Regions from separate parts of the Homo sapiens genome. Here region 1 is linked to region 2. The links are contacts of gene promoters, found by promoter capture Hi-C in blood cells and fetal thymus (Javierre and others, 2016). All regions are on one chromosome and are shown on one strand. Each heading gives the region's core, a stretch centred on a gene start or on the middle of the fragment in contact. The rest is flanking DNA. Distances are from core to core; before and after follow the strand shown.

What was found. Contacts are between HindIII fragments. The CHiCAGO score rates a contact against its expected background, and 5 or more counts as called.
Region 1: a fragment that was not itself captured here is called in contact with the fragment with the promoter of RASL11A in region 2 in 1 of 17 cell types (naive B cells); the score reaches 5.6 in naive B cells.

Annotation. Positions count from the first base shown.
Region 1 is chr13:27,157,342-27,163,525 of GRCh38, forward strand. All of the region lies in intron 1 of USP12 (ubiquitin specific peptidase 12), which reads right to left. It overlaps USP12-AS1 (USP12 antisense RNA 1), which reads left to right. Exons shown (of 3, transcript NR_046547.1): 2 at 5,519-5,582. Among named protein-coding and RNA genes, the nearest start is that of USP12, 11 kb to the right of the region's middle. The HindIII fragment of the contact is 2,215 bases long and covers 411-2,625 here.
Region 2 is chr13:27,267,588-27,273,534 of GRCh38, forward strand. RASL11A (RAS like family 11 member A) reads left to right here and starts at 3,243. Exons shown (of 4, transcript NM_206827.2): 1 at 3,243-3,481; 2 at 3,897-3,953; 3 at 4,052-4,131; 4 at 5,440-5,947. The coding sequence starts at 3,358. The coding sequence ends at 5,907. RefSeq lists an enhancer at 2,705-3,205 and silencers at 3,154-3,373, 3,414-3,643. The HindIII fragment of the contact is 11,897 bases long and covers 1-5,947 here.

The DNA.
Region 1 (6,184 bases), core at 268-2,767, 110 kb before region 2:
AATCCCGTCATTATATAGAGGTGTACATAATTCCCCGTCATTACTTTGGGAAAAAGTGGATGTTCTAGGTATGATCTCTCCCACTTTCCTTTACCCGCTGTATCAGAAGTACTTTTCATTAGCTCATTTTTAGCAAAAATGAGTTCTGTAAGCTACAAATGTGATTTTTAACAACATATACATGCCTTTTTTTAAAAAAAATATAAGTTTATAGAAGATTTTTCCCTAAACCAATATGAACCCAATCAATTTAACAAGTTTGAGGACAAAATTACTGAAACATTAAATCATGTAAGTAATTTTAATCACTTAACCTTATTTCTCTCTTGTTATTTTAATTCACTTCTCACTTCCTCGCCAGGACCTTTGTCCTCTTCATTTTTCTCCAAGTTACCTTTCAAATTCCACCAAGCTTCCCTCCCCACCACTCCCAAAAGCCTTCCTTCTCCAACTGATGCAGGCCTCACTCCAAATACCAGTCTGTCTTCCCTGTACACATCAAAATACAGCTTATCAAGTTTGTATCAGTTTACATTATTATACACAAAGCTGGTCTCCCCAACTAGACTGCAAGCCCTTTGGAACTTAAACAGCTTTGAATCTCTAGGGTCTAGCACATAACCCAACTTAATGAATATTCCTTGACATTAATTGCAATGGACCTGATTGCGCCATTAGTTTTACTGGGTGAACTGTGTTCCCTAATAAAGGTACGTTTAAGTCTTAAGCCCCAATATCTCAGAATATGACCTTATTTTGAAATAGGGTCTTTACAGAAGTAATCAAGTTACAATGAAGTCATTAGGGTGGACCCTAATCCAGTGTGACTGGTGTCTGTGTAGAAAGGGAAAATTCGGACACAGGCATAGAAGGAAGACAAAATGGAGACAGAGACACAGGGAGAATGCCATGTGAAAAGATTGGAATGATGCATCCACTGCCAGAAAACCACCAGTAGCTAGGGTAGAAAATGGAAGAGAGTCTCCTCATAGCCCTCAGAGGGAACCAACCCTGTCGACATCCTGATTCTGGACTTCTAGCCTACAGAATTGTTAGGACGATAAATTTCTGTTACAGGCATGCACCACTTAATGACAGGGATACATTCTGAGAAATTGACTGTTAAGCAATTTCATCATGGTGCGTATGTCATAGAGTGTACTCACGCAAACCTAGATGGTACAGCCCACTACACACTTAGGCTATGTGGTCTAGCCTCTTGCTCCTAGGCCACAAACCTGTACAGCATATGACTGTACTGGATCCTGTAGGTAACTGTAACACAATGGTAAGTATTCATGTCTCTAAACACATCTAAACGTAGAAAAGGTACAGTAACAATACAGTATTATAATCCACACACAGTTTCTGGCACTTTGTTATGGCAGCCCTAGGAAACTAATAAAATTATTGTTTAATAAAATGAAAATGTGCAAACAGTATTATATAACCAAACCTTTCAATATGATAGACATTGAAGATCATGGGAAATTAAAATGCACACAAGAGTTTTGACATGGAATGAAACATGATGACAACCAAAAATATACACTGTTAGGTGAAAAAGCAAATAAACCTGCAGTTTTAAATTTTGGGGGGAGTGGGGGTGACACACACACAATACCTCATGTTTGTATATGCACAGGTAATGTCTGGCAATAAACACACACATATCCCAACTCTTTCTAGCAATTACTTCTTGGGAAAGGGCGGCCCCTCTTCCTTGTAAGAAATGAATTTTTTAAACTCACACAATTTTGCAGTTTTAAAAATAGTAAGTGGTTTGGTTTTTCTTAAACTTCTAAAATTGCAAAATTAAAAGAAACTACCATTTCTAAGGTAATCAGATATCACATTTTTCTTTAAGAGTATATACAGTTAAACCTGAATAATTTAATTCTTTTAAAATCCTCACTCTGGTAGTTCAAAAAACAATGTATCAATTACTAAATTACAAGGGCGTATCTACCACCCCATTTCTAAAAGTTACCATGACATTATATTTCAAAGTCCATATTAAACACAGGCTGTTCCTAAAAATGTCAGGAAGAAAATAAGATTTTTCAAACACCATTCCATTTGCATCAGGCATATAATTCTGGTGTTTTACAAGTGTTCTATCATTAAATTTCATTTCTCAACTAGGCCACACCTATTCAATCCAGCCTTCTCTATCAATATCCAGTAACATTTGCAGAGGGCCTTGTTAACTTGGATGTCAACCAAAAATGTACCCAAATATCCTAACTCTCTTTAACAGTCTGTTCTAGATTTATCATCTATACATTTATCTAAACTCAAACTTTCCTACACCTTTATTTTTTATCATTGTGAGATCTGAATCTGTGAAATGCCTAGCAATAGCATCACCAAGTAGCCACTCAATAAATGTCAGACTCCTATATAAGTTCCTTGGGAAAGCTAAAATTACAGATGTCACATTCAACTTTACAAGTCAGGGAAGATGACCTAAGTCATCATTAACATAAAATGGCAAGAACATCACGGTAGGCTATTAGCACTGAAATGGTATAATAACTACAACCCAGTTTCAGAGATGAAAAGGAAAGAAAGTAGACTATTAAAGCAACTAACATCTGGGATGAAAATGTGTAACAGAAGAGAAGCTTTAAGGACACAAGGAAGTAAAAACCTGAAAGAGCGGAATTGCGAACACTTGGCAGGAGGAGTAACCTGAGCAAAGGCAACTGTGCAGTCTTTAAAGAACGAAAATACCACCTTAAATACATACCATGTGTCAATTATACCTCAGTAAAGCTGGAAAAACTCAATAAAGAAAGAAACTAAACAGAGAACAAAAAAAGGTGACAGATTTCACTTGTATCTTTTTAGTTAAAAAGGGCAACATAATGTCTCCAACTAAGACAATGATACAAATATCCAAGCATTTTTATCTGGCTAAGGCTTGATGTGTATAGTGAGAAAACAACCAGAAGTAAAAGTTGCTTCCTTTTAGTTTTTCATTTGCCAAGTTAAGTGAAGGCCTCTGCTTTAACCAGTCACATGACAATGGCAGGTCCTTGTTCAGCAGGGTCCCCCGTGGAGGAGATATAAGCCTCCTCAAATTGAAAAAAAAAATGCAATAAAAACAAATGAAACTAACCAGTAAACTTTAAAAAAGTGAACTGTCTTTAAAAAAAAAAAAATGCAACACCAGACAATGAAAAGATTCTAATTTGCCTAGCAGAACCAAAAGCACAATATTTTTGGTTTTGTTTTTGGTCCGTTGTATCTAGTTTTTGAGCCTTTGATGTTTCAAATTTGTTCCAAATTTTGTCCACCTTTACATAAAAACCCTGAGCACATCAGTCTGAAGAAATTATCAGCTTTAAACCTCTAGGTCCATCAAACAACAAACAGTGAAACCACTTGATTCCTATTCCTCACCTGTTCTTAAAAGAACCAAAGCATCATGTTTCTTTTTTTTTTTTTTCCCCCTTCAACCTTAAGTTACAGGGTACATGTGCAGGATGTGCAGGTTTGTGACACAGGTAAACGTATCATGGTGGTTTGCTGCACAGCTCAACCCATCTCCCCGGGTTAAGCCCAGCATCCATCAGCTCTTCTTCCTGATGCTCTCCCTCCCGCCATCCTCCCCACAGGCCCCAGTGTGTAGCGTTCCCCTCCACAAAGCGTCATCTTTCAAGGCCGTTAAGTCTGAAACCTTCTAAACATTATATCCCGTTTTGTGGAAAAGAGAATCCCCCTGCTCTATTAAGATATACCTCCTAACGCAAACTTCAAAGTCCCAGCTACTACCCCCAAGGTACCACCTTAACCATCCTGCATATGAGTCTCTTCATTAAGCAAATTAAACAAACAGGGAACCTTTGCAACATCAGCAAAGAAAAATTGTGAAACAATATGCCAGAGAAACAGCAGAAATAATTTCTTCAAAGTTATAACGGCTAGATTTTTGGACTAAGATAATCACATACAAAGCAGAATAAATGTTCATCTACAGAATCTCAAATTATAAATGCATTTTCCATTCCAAAGAACAAAAGCCTTGTATTTTATTGTCTCCTTACCCCTACAACTTAAGTACTTTATGACTTATTTTACTTGTGCCCAGATGGGCTCTAATTTTGAAAGTCTCTTTTCAGGGATCCCTGAAAAACCCAGGTAGACCAATACTGTAGAAATAAAGGCAATTTACTCACTATAATTTTATACCTTTAAAAAAAAATGTTACTAATAGGGAATTGCAGTGTTTACTGCCATCAGAAGTTAACTACAGGCCAGGTGCAGTGGTTCACACGTGTAATTGCAGCATTTTGGGAGGCCAGCTACATCACTTGAGTTTGAGACCAGCCTGGGCAACATGGTGAAACCCTGTCTCTACAAAAAAAATTAATTAAAAAGAAAAAATAGCTGGGCATGGTAGTGTGTGCCTGTAGTCCCAGATACTTGGGAGGCTCAGGCAGGAGGATAGCTTGAGCCCGGGGGGCAGAGGTTTCAATGAGGCGAGACTGCACCACTGCACTCCAGCCTGGGCAACAGAGCAAGGCTCTGTCTCAAAAAATAAAAAAAAATAAAAAAAAATTAAAAAGCCACTCATTAACTGTACATTTTTAACATAGTAAAGATTTTAAGGGTAATCTAAAACTTTGCTTCATGGATCATTAAAATACTCATTTTCAAACTTTGAAATGACTACGCTTTGTCAAAGGTAACTTGTGAGCTCCGTTACAACTCCTACAGTCCACAGTATCTTAATGTGCTTTCCATCCTTTCCTTAAGAGGGCATGGAGTCTTACCAACAATGACCATGTAAGGGTGATGTTGATATGTATTTATAGTACAAAGGACGTTCACATGTGTCATCTCATCTGATCTAATGGGGAAATTATTATTCCATTTCATAACTGAAACCAGTTAAACGGCCTACCCAAGTGAAAATAATTAGTGAGGACTCAAAGTCACACACACACAGATATGCAGCCGAAAAGTCAGGAATAAAAATTCCCCAATCTCTTGTTTGAAAAGGAGTAATTTTGTCTCAACCATCAAACCTGCAACACATTGCCCTGTAGATGTCATAACGAGTTTGCATGTCTAGAAATTTGGACCCCATCCCTAGCTGCTGCAGGGCTGACTTTAAGCTTCCTTTTCCATTTTGTGAAAATGGGGCTAATACTACCTAACCTTTCCTAATTCTGAATGGATCTTCAAGATGACAGATAGAGAAAGACTAATAACAACAACAAAATAAAATTAATGCTTTTGAAATACCTCAAAAAAAATCTATTGTTAATTTTCTTAGTTGTGACAATACTATCGTGTTACTGTTAAAGAGATTGCCCTTTCATTTTAGGTAGGTTTCTTATTGAGCAATATTTTGTTTTTTATCCATTCTGATAGTTCCTTTAATACAATGAAAGTAAGTTTGAACCATTTGGATTATTATGATTAATGAACTAGAAGAGCTTATTTCTTCCACCTGTGTTTTCTGTCATTCTTTTTCATTTTGTTTTTCCTATTTTCCTTCCCTCAGAGTTTGAATGGTAACGTTTAAATGTCTGCTGCTACGGAAGCAAGAAAATTCACTCCCTGTGTGGGTGTGTATTTATCCTTAATTTTTTAACATGTATATACAATCCAAAATTTTCCAATAGTGGTTGTTTAGTTGGCTCTTAAACAAGGAGGCCCTTAACAAGTTTTAACAACCCACTGAACTGTCCTTGTACCCCATCCATCTTGTTTTGTTGTCATTTTCTCTTCTTAAAAAAAATACAAGCAAATTTTGAAAAATCAATGTAATTCAATTTACCAGCATATTTTTACCAACTCCATTGTTTCTTATATCCTCATGACTGTCCTCTGGACTTACATTTCCTCAGGCTAAACACACACTTTAATAATCATTTTAATGTGAATCAATACTTGGTAAACTCCTGGTACTTCTTTAAATATGCCCCCTTCCTACTCTCCAGCCTTACTGTTCACAAGACCCGCTTTCACGCCAAACCACCTACAGAGCCTAAGAGTAACACATTATCTATTTACATCTGGTATCCCATCCCTCCATGTCCACATAATAAAGGCCATTCATTTTGCAAAGTTCAACTCTCTTCTAAGAAGCTTTTTCCTGAAGCCCTCTTCTCTCTCCCAAAACCACCTTCTCTTTCACATATAATTACCATTACTTATACCAATAAGA
Region 2 (5,947 bases), core at 1,993-4,492:
GGCAGTCATTCTCTCTGTGAGTTCTTGATTTTGGATGGGGGTGGTGGTATGTCCAGCTAGAGGGAGGAATCATGATTGTCTAAACTAGTCATGGCCATCCCAGTCTTCTTTGCTAGATACTTGAGTAATCTCTTTCCCAGTTTCTCTGTTCTGGCCAGTGAGATGTAAGAGAGAGTCTGCTGAGTTCTTGTGAGAACTGCTTTATTTCATAAAGAGAACAACTAAGAGAGTACTTCCTTCCCTTCCTGTTTGGGTAAGGACTTGATGCTGCAGGAGCCACCCTGCATCCATAAAGGAGAAGTCAAAAGGAATCAGAGACAACAGCCCAGACCCCCATCACGGAGCTGCACGTGACCCTGGAACTTAACAGCTTCCAGTTGTTCCCTAGACAGTCATTGTCTTTATGGTGCCTTTTCCCCCATCAGGGAGGAAGGTGCCTTGCTTCAAGTCTTTTCAATTAAACTGCAGTTTAACAGAGAAAATTGCCTTATGAACAGTCAAAAGTCAGTACAACTTAAATATGGCAGTTTATCTCAGGACATCTCCCAGCACACGTCTTCCTGAGAGCAAGCTGCTCTCAAAACCAAGGCAATGGGAAAATGGTCAGAAACATGACTTCTGTATTTTCCAGTTCATACACTGAAGACAGCATTCATTCATTCATTTGGAAAGTCAGCCAGTGAACAAACATTTATTAAGGACCTTGCCAGTCCCAGGTGCCACTATGTGCTGGGTACTAGAGTCACAAGCTAGAGTCCCTGTCCTCCTGGAGACAGACATGAAACAAATATTCCACCAGAAAGTAATGATAGTTGAGATCAGTGCCCTGAGAGTGAGTAACTGCAAGATAGGGGTGGGGACAGTGGCAGTGATCAGAGACGGCTTCTCCAAGGGAGGAACATGTAAACTGAAGTCACCATCTAGTCTAGATTAGTTTACTTCAGGATTATTCAGAATTCTGCAGATAAGAAATGAGGCCGGGCGCGGTGGCTCACGCCTGTAATCCCAGCACTTTGGGAGGCCGAGGCGGGCGGATCACGAGGTCAGGAGATCGAGACCATCCCGGCTAAAACGGTGAAACCCCGTCTCTACTAAAAATACAAAAAATTAGCCGGGCGTAGTGGCGGGCGCCTGTAGTCCCAGCTACTTGGGAGGCTGAGGCAGGAGAATGGCGTGAACCCGGGAGGCGGAGCTTGCAGTGAGCCGAGATTGCGCCACTGCACTCCAGCCTGGGCGACAGAGCGAGACTCCGTCTCAAAAAAAAAAAAAAAAAAAGAAATGAGAGCAGTAGGGATACAGAGGGAGACACCAAGAAATATAGGAGGAGAAATGATGGAACTTGGCGATTAATCAATGTGGAAGTGAGAGAGTGGGTAGAGTCAAGGATGTCTCCCAGGCTTGGGCCACTGGGTGGATGGAGACACATTCATTAGCATGGTCAATTACAAAAATGGACCCCATTCTCCATCACTCTCTGCTTCCTTGCCCTTTCACACGTGACTTTTCTGCTGTTTCCACAAAGGGGCGGAGTGTATTTCCCTACTCCTTGAATATGGGCTGGCCCCATGACTTGCTTTGGCCAACAGAATGCAGCAGAAGGGATGGGTTCCTTCTCAAGGCCTAGGTCTCAAGAGGCCTTATCCATTTCCACCCACTCTCTTGGAACTCTGCTCAGCTACCATGAAGGCAGGCCCTGGCCAACGTGCTGAATGAGAAGAGACATGTAACTCAGTCACTACCCTCCCTCATCACAGCCAACAGCTGCCAGACATGAGTAAGGCTATCCAAGGGCAGCCAGCCCCCACTTCCAGAACCTGGAAGCTCCCTGCAGATGCATCAAAGGGCTCAACAACTGTAAGTGATTGTTGTTCTAAGCCATCTAGTTTGGTGTGGCTTGTCATGCAGCAAAAACTGGTACAACCAGGGTAGAGAAAGGTATGAATTAGGGTGGGGCTGTCTAATAGGCGATTAGGCAAGTGAGGCTGGAACACAGGAGGTCAGAGGCATGAAGGTCTTCTAACTGTTCAAGGTTAAAGTCCTGAGGCTTCTGCTGTGCTATTTCTGGTGGGCTCCAGAAATCCAAGAACCAGTCTATAGCTCTGTGTCCTGTTCCTCACACTGCCCCCCACCCCACCCTAGACCCCACCATGCACCTAGAAGTAAATATTTGGATACTGAAGCAAATGCATGACTCAAGCACATAGGATAGTATTAATGATGGACACTTAGTGCAGGGCCAGGGCCCCCAGCCAGTGGAGTGCTCATGAGTGTTCAGGAATGAGCCAGTGCAACCCCTGCCTGCAGAGGAGGGGCTGGGCATGGATACTGAGATGCTAACCATCACTGCCCCTAAGGGGACTTCATCTATCCCTAGCAAGGTCACAGTGACTGCAGTTGCCTCCACTGATACTAATTCAGAGCTCTTGCCCCCCGCCCCCCGCCCTTTTCCCATATTAATGTTACCCCTTAGCATCTTTTCTTTTCTTTCTTTTTTTTTTTTTTTTGAGACGGAGTTTCGCTCTTGTGGTCCAGGCTGGAGTGCAGTGGTGCCATCTCGGCTCACTGCAACCTCCGCCTCCCTAGTTCAAGCGATTCTGCTGCCTCAGCCTCCCGAGTAGTTGGGATTACAGGCGCCCACCACCACGCCCCGCTAATTTTTGTATTTTTAGTAGAGACAGCGTTTCGCCATGTTGGCCAGGCTGGTCTTGAACTCCTGACCGCAGATGATCTTGCCCACCTGGGCCTCCCAAAGTGCTGGGATTACAGGCGTAAGCCACCGCGCCCAGCCCCTTAGCACCTTTTAAAAATAAAAAGGGCAGCGTTTTACAGCAATCTGTCCCATTGTTGCAGAAACATCCAACTGATTGCACTTTTTCTTCTTCTCTCGTCAACTCGTAACTCCTATCTCAAGTTCACCCACAGGTCTAGTGACTCCGGCTGGCTGCTGCGGGGCGAGGAGACTCGCAGAATGCCTGACTAGAGGCCACTCGCGCGCTCTGGACGGTGGCCGTATCTCCAGGGTCTGAGCCCCGGAGCCGCAGTCCTGCCGCAGAGCGCCTGGAGCCGCGAGCAGCTAGCAGCCCGGCGAAGCGCACAGCCTCGGCGATAGTCAGCTCCGCGGCCTCTGCTCCCGCCCCTCCCGGCCGCTCCGGGAAGGGGCGGAGACGAGGAGGAGCTGGGACGGCCGCCGCGCTCCCGGGCGCACCAAGCCCTTTAAAAGCCGCGGGCCTTGACAGTTCTGCAGGCAGCCGCCGCGGTCCCGGACCTCTAGTCCCGCACTCCCAGCTGGCGAGCCGGCTCCGGGTGCGGCGAGGCCCAGCCCTCTCGGATTGCGCGCCGGACCCCGGGACGCGCTCCATGCGGCCGCTCAGCATGTCCGGGCACTTTCTGCTCGCACCCATCCCCGAGTCCTCCTCGGACTACCTACTGCCCAAGGACATCAAACTGGCGGTGCTGGGCGCCGGCCGCGTGGGCAAGAGCGGTGAGTGCGGCGGGGACCCCCGGGCGGCTTCGCTCCCCGGCTCCGGCCGCGACCACTGGGGGCGCTGCGGAGAGAGGGCGCCTCGGCCGAAGCAGAGGGCGCGGGTGCAGGTAGAATCGGGCTGCTTTCGCGCTGGGTGGGTCCCGGTCCGTCCCGGCCTGCTTCCCTGGCGTTTCCTGGTGCATCTACTCCTGGGATCTCGGCGGGATTGGCGCCTGTTCGGGGATGGGGTGCGGGAGAGGTGTCCCGCCAGTCGTACTCGCGGCCAAGCCCGCGGCACCACGGCTTTGCGGAGCCTCTGGAAGCGAGCAGTGCCCACGGTTCTGCACCCTTCACTCCCCCCAGTTTGTCCGAGGTGCCTGGGTTTGACAGGCTTGTTCTACTCCTTCGGTTGATTTTCCTATTTCCTTTTCAGCAATGATCGTGCGCTTCCTGACCAAGAGATTCATTGGAGACTATGAACCGAATACAGGTGAGAATACTTTCACGCTCCCTGCTTTTATGCTTGCGTGTTTCTTTTTACGGATGGGAGTTTGAGAATTAAAAAGCAAACTCTACTTCATTCTCCAGGCAAGCTGTATTCACGGCTGGTCTATGTCGAGGGGGACCAGCTCTCCCTGCAGATCCAGGATACTCCCGGGGGCGTCCAGGTAAGAACCGCCAGGGGCAAACAGCTCACCCCCACCCGTGAGACCACCCCAGTGGGCACAGCACGTAGGGCGCCCATGCTGGGCGCAGGGGTCTGAGCAAGGCATCTAAACCGACCTGTGCGTTTAGAGGGAGGAATGGGCTGTCCACAGGTGGGGCCAGTGGTTGGGGTGTTAGAAACTCTCTAAGGGGGAGGCATGGTTAGAAGCAGCCTCCTCTTGTTAAGCACCTGACTTAACTTCACTTTGCAACCCTGGTGGGCCATCACTACTTAAGCAGGTCTCACCATTTCTTCCGGAGGTAGCCATGGAACCATTAACAAAGAAAAAAACGTTTAAAACAAAACAAAACAAAACAAAAAAAGAGGTAGGATTCTGATGGGAGAGACTCTTCTCCCCTGGCAAGCTCTGCTTTTTTTGAGACGGAGTTTCACTCTTGCCCAGGCTGGAGTGCAGTGGCTGGATCTCAGCTCACTGCAACTTCCGCCTCCTAGGTTCCAGCGATTCTCCTCGATTCTCCTGCTTCAGTCTCCCGAGTAGCTGGGACTACAGGCACCCGCCGGAACTCCCAGCTATTTATCTATTTATTTATTTATTAGTAGAGATGGGGTTTCACTATGTTGGCCAGGCTGGTCTCGAACTCCTGACCTCAAGTGATCCGCCCACCTCGGCCTCCCAAAGTGGTGGGATTATAGGCATGAGCCACAGCGCCCGGCCCAAGCACTGCTGAACTGCTGCTGTTAATGGCTGTTCCCTCAAGTCAGTAATTGCAATCAGATAACCCCTTGGCAGAGGGTCTAGAATGTAACTTGTTTATTAACCAGTTACTAATTGCTACTCCGTTCTCCAGAGGAAAGGTCTTGTGGAAGAACCCTAAGAAAGGAATTTCTTTCTGTAACATTCTTAAGAAGTGCATGTTAAAAATGTTTTTATGAGTTTGGGAATAGATATTTATCTTGGCTTATTTTCAAAGTTTTGTTTATTATGAGTTAGTGTTTCCTAAAACTTGAGCCATTCTGGTTTGAGGTCATTCTTCAGTCAGCCATGGTTCACCAGAGACTGCCTGACAAGCAAGGGGTTTAAAAATAATGCAGGGATAACAGCTAATAAAGTAACTCAGGCAGGGAGTTTGCCTGGGAATCTGTTCTTTCCATATCAAAAGCCTGCTTCTGCAGAAGCTGGGTGGAAACTGAAAACTGTATTTAGAGATTTCTTTTTCAAGTGTTTCTTCAAGGGTTGCCTTGATGTTGTTTTGAGTTTATCTCCCACTGAGGGTTTCCTTGACTGGATCTCATTTTGATGTTTTCTCAGATCCAAGACAGCCTCCCCCAGGTCGTCGATTCCCTGTCCAAATGCGTGCAGTGGGCCGAGGGTTTTCTGCTGGTCTATTCCATCACAGACTATGACAGCTACTTGTCCATCCGACCCCTTTATCAGCACATCCGGAAGGTCCACCCTGACTCTAAAGCCCCTGTCATCATCGTGGGCAACAAGGGGGACCTTTTGCATGCCCGGCAGGTGCAGACACAGGACGGTATTCAGCTAGCCAATGAGCTGGGCAGCCTGTTCCTTGAAATTTCCACTAGCGAAAACTACGAAGATGTCTGTGATGTGTTTCAGCATCTCTGCAAAGAAGTGAGCAAGATGCACGGCCTCAGTGGGGAAAGAAGAAGAGCCTCCATCATCCCTCGGCCCCGCTCTCCCAACATGCAGGACCTGAAGAGACGCTTCAAGCAGGCTCTGTCTCCCAAAGTCAAAGCCCCCTCTGCACTGGGGTGAACTATCTCAGACAGATGCCTCTCCTTTTTAATACGCATTT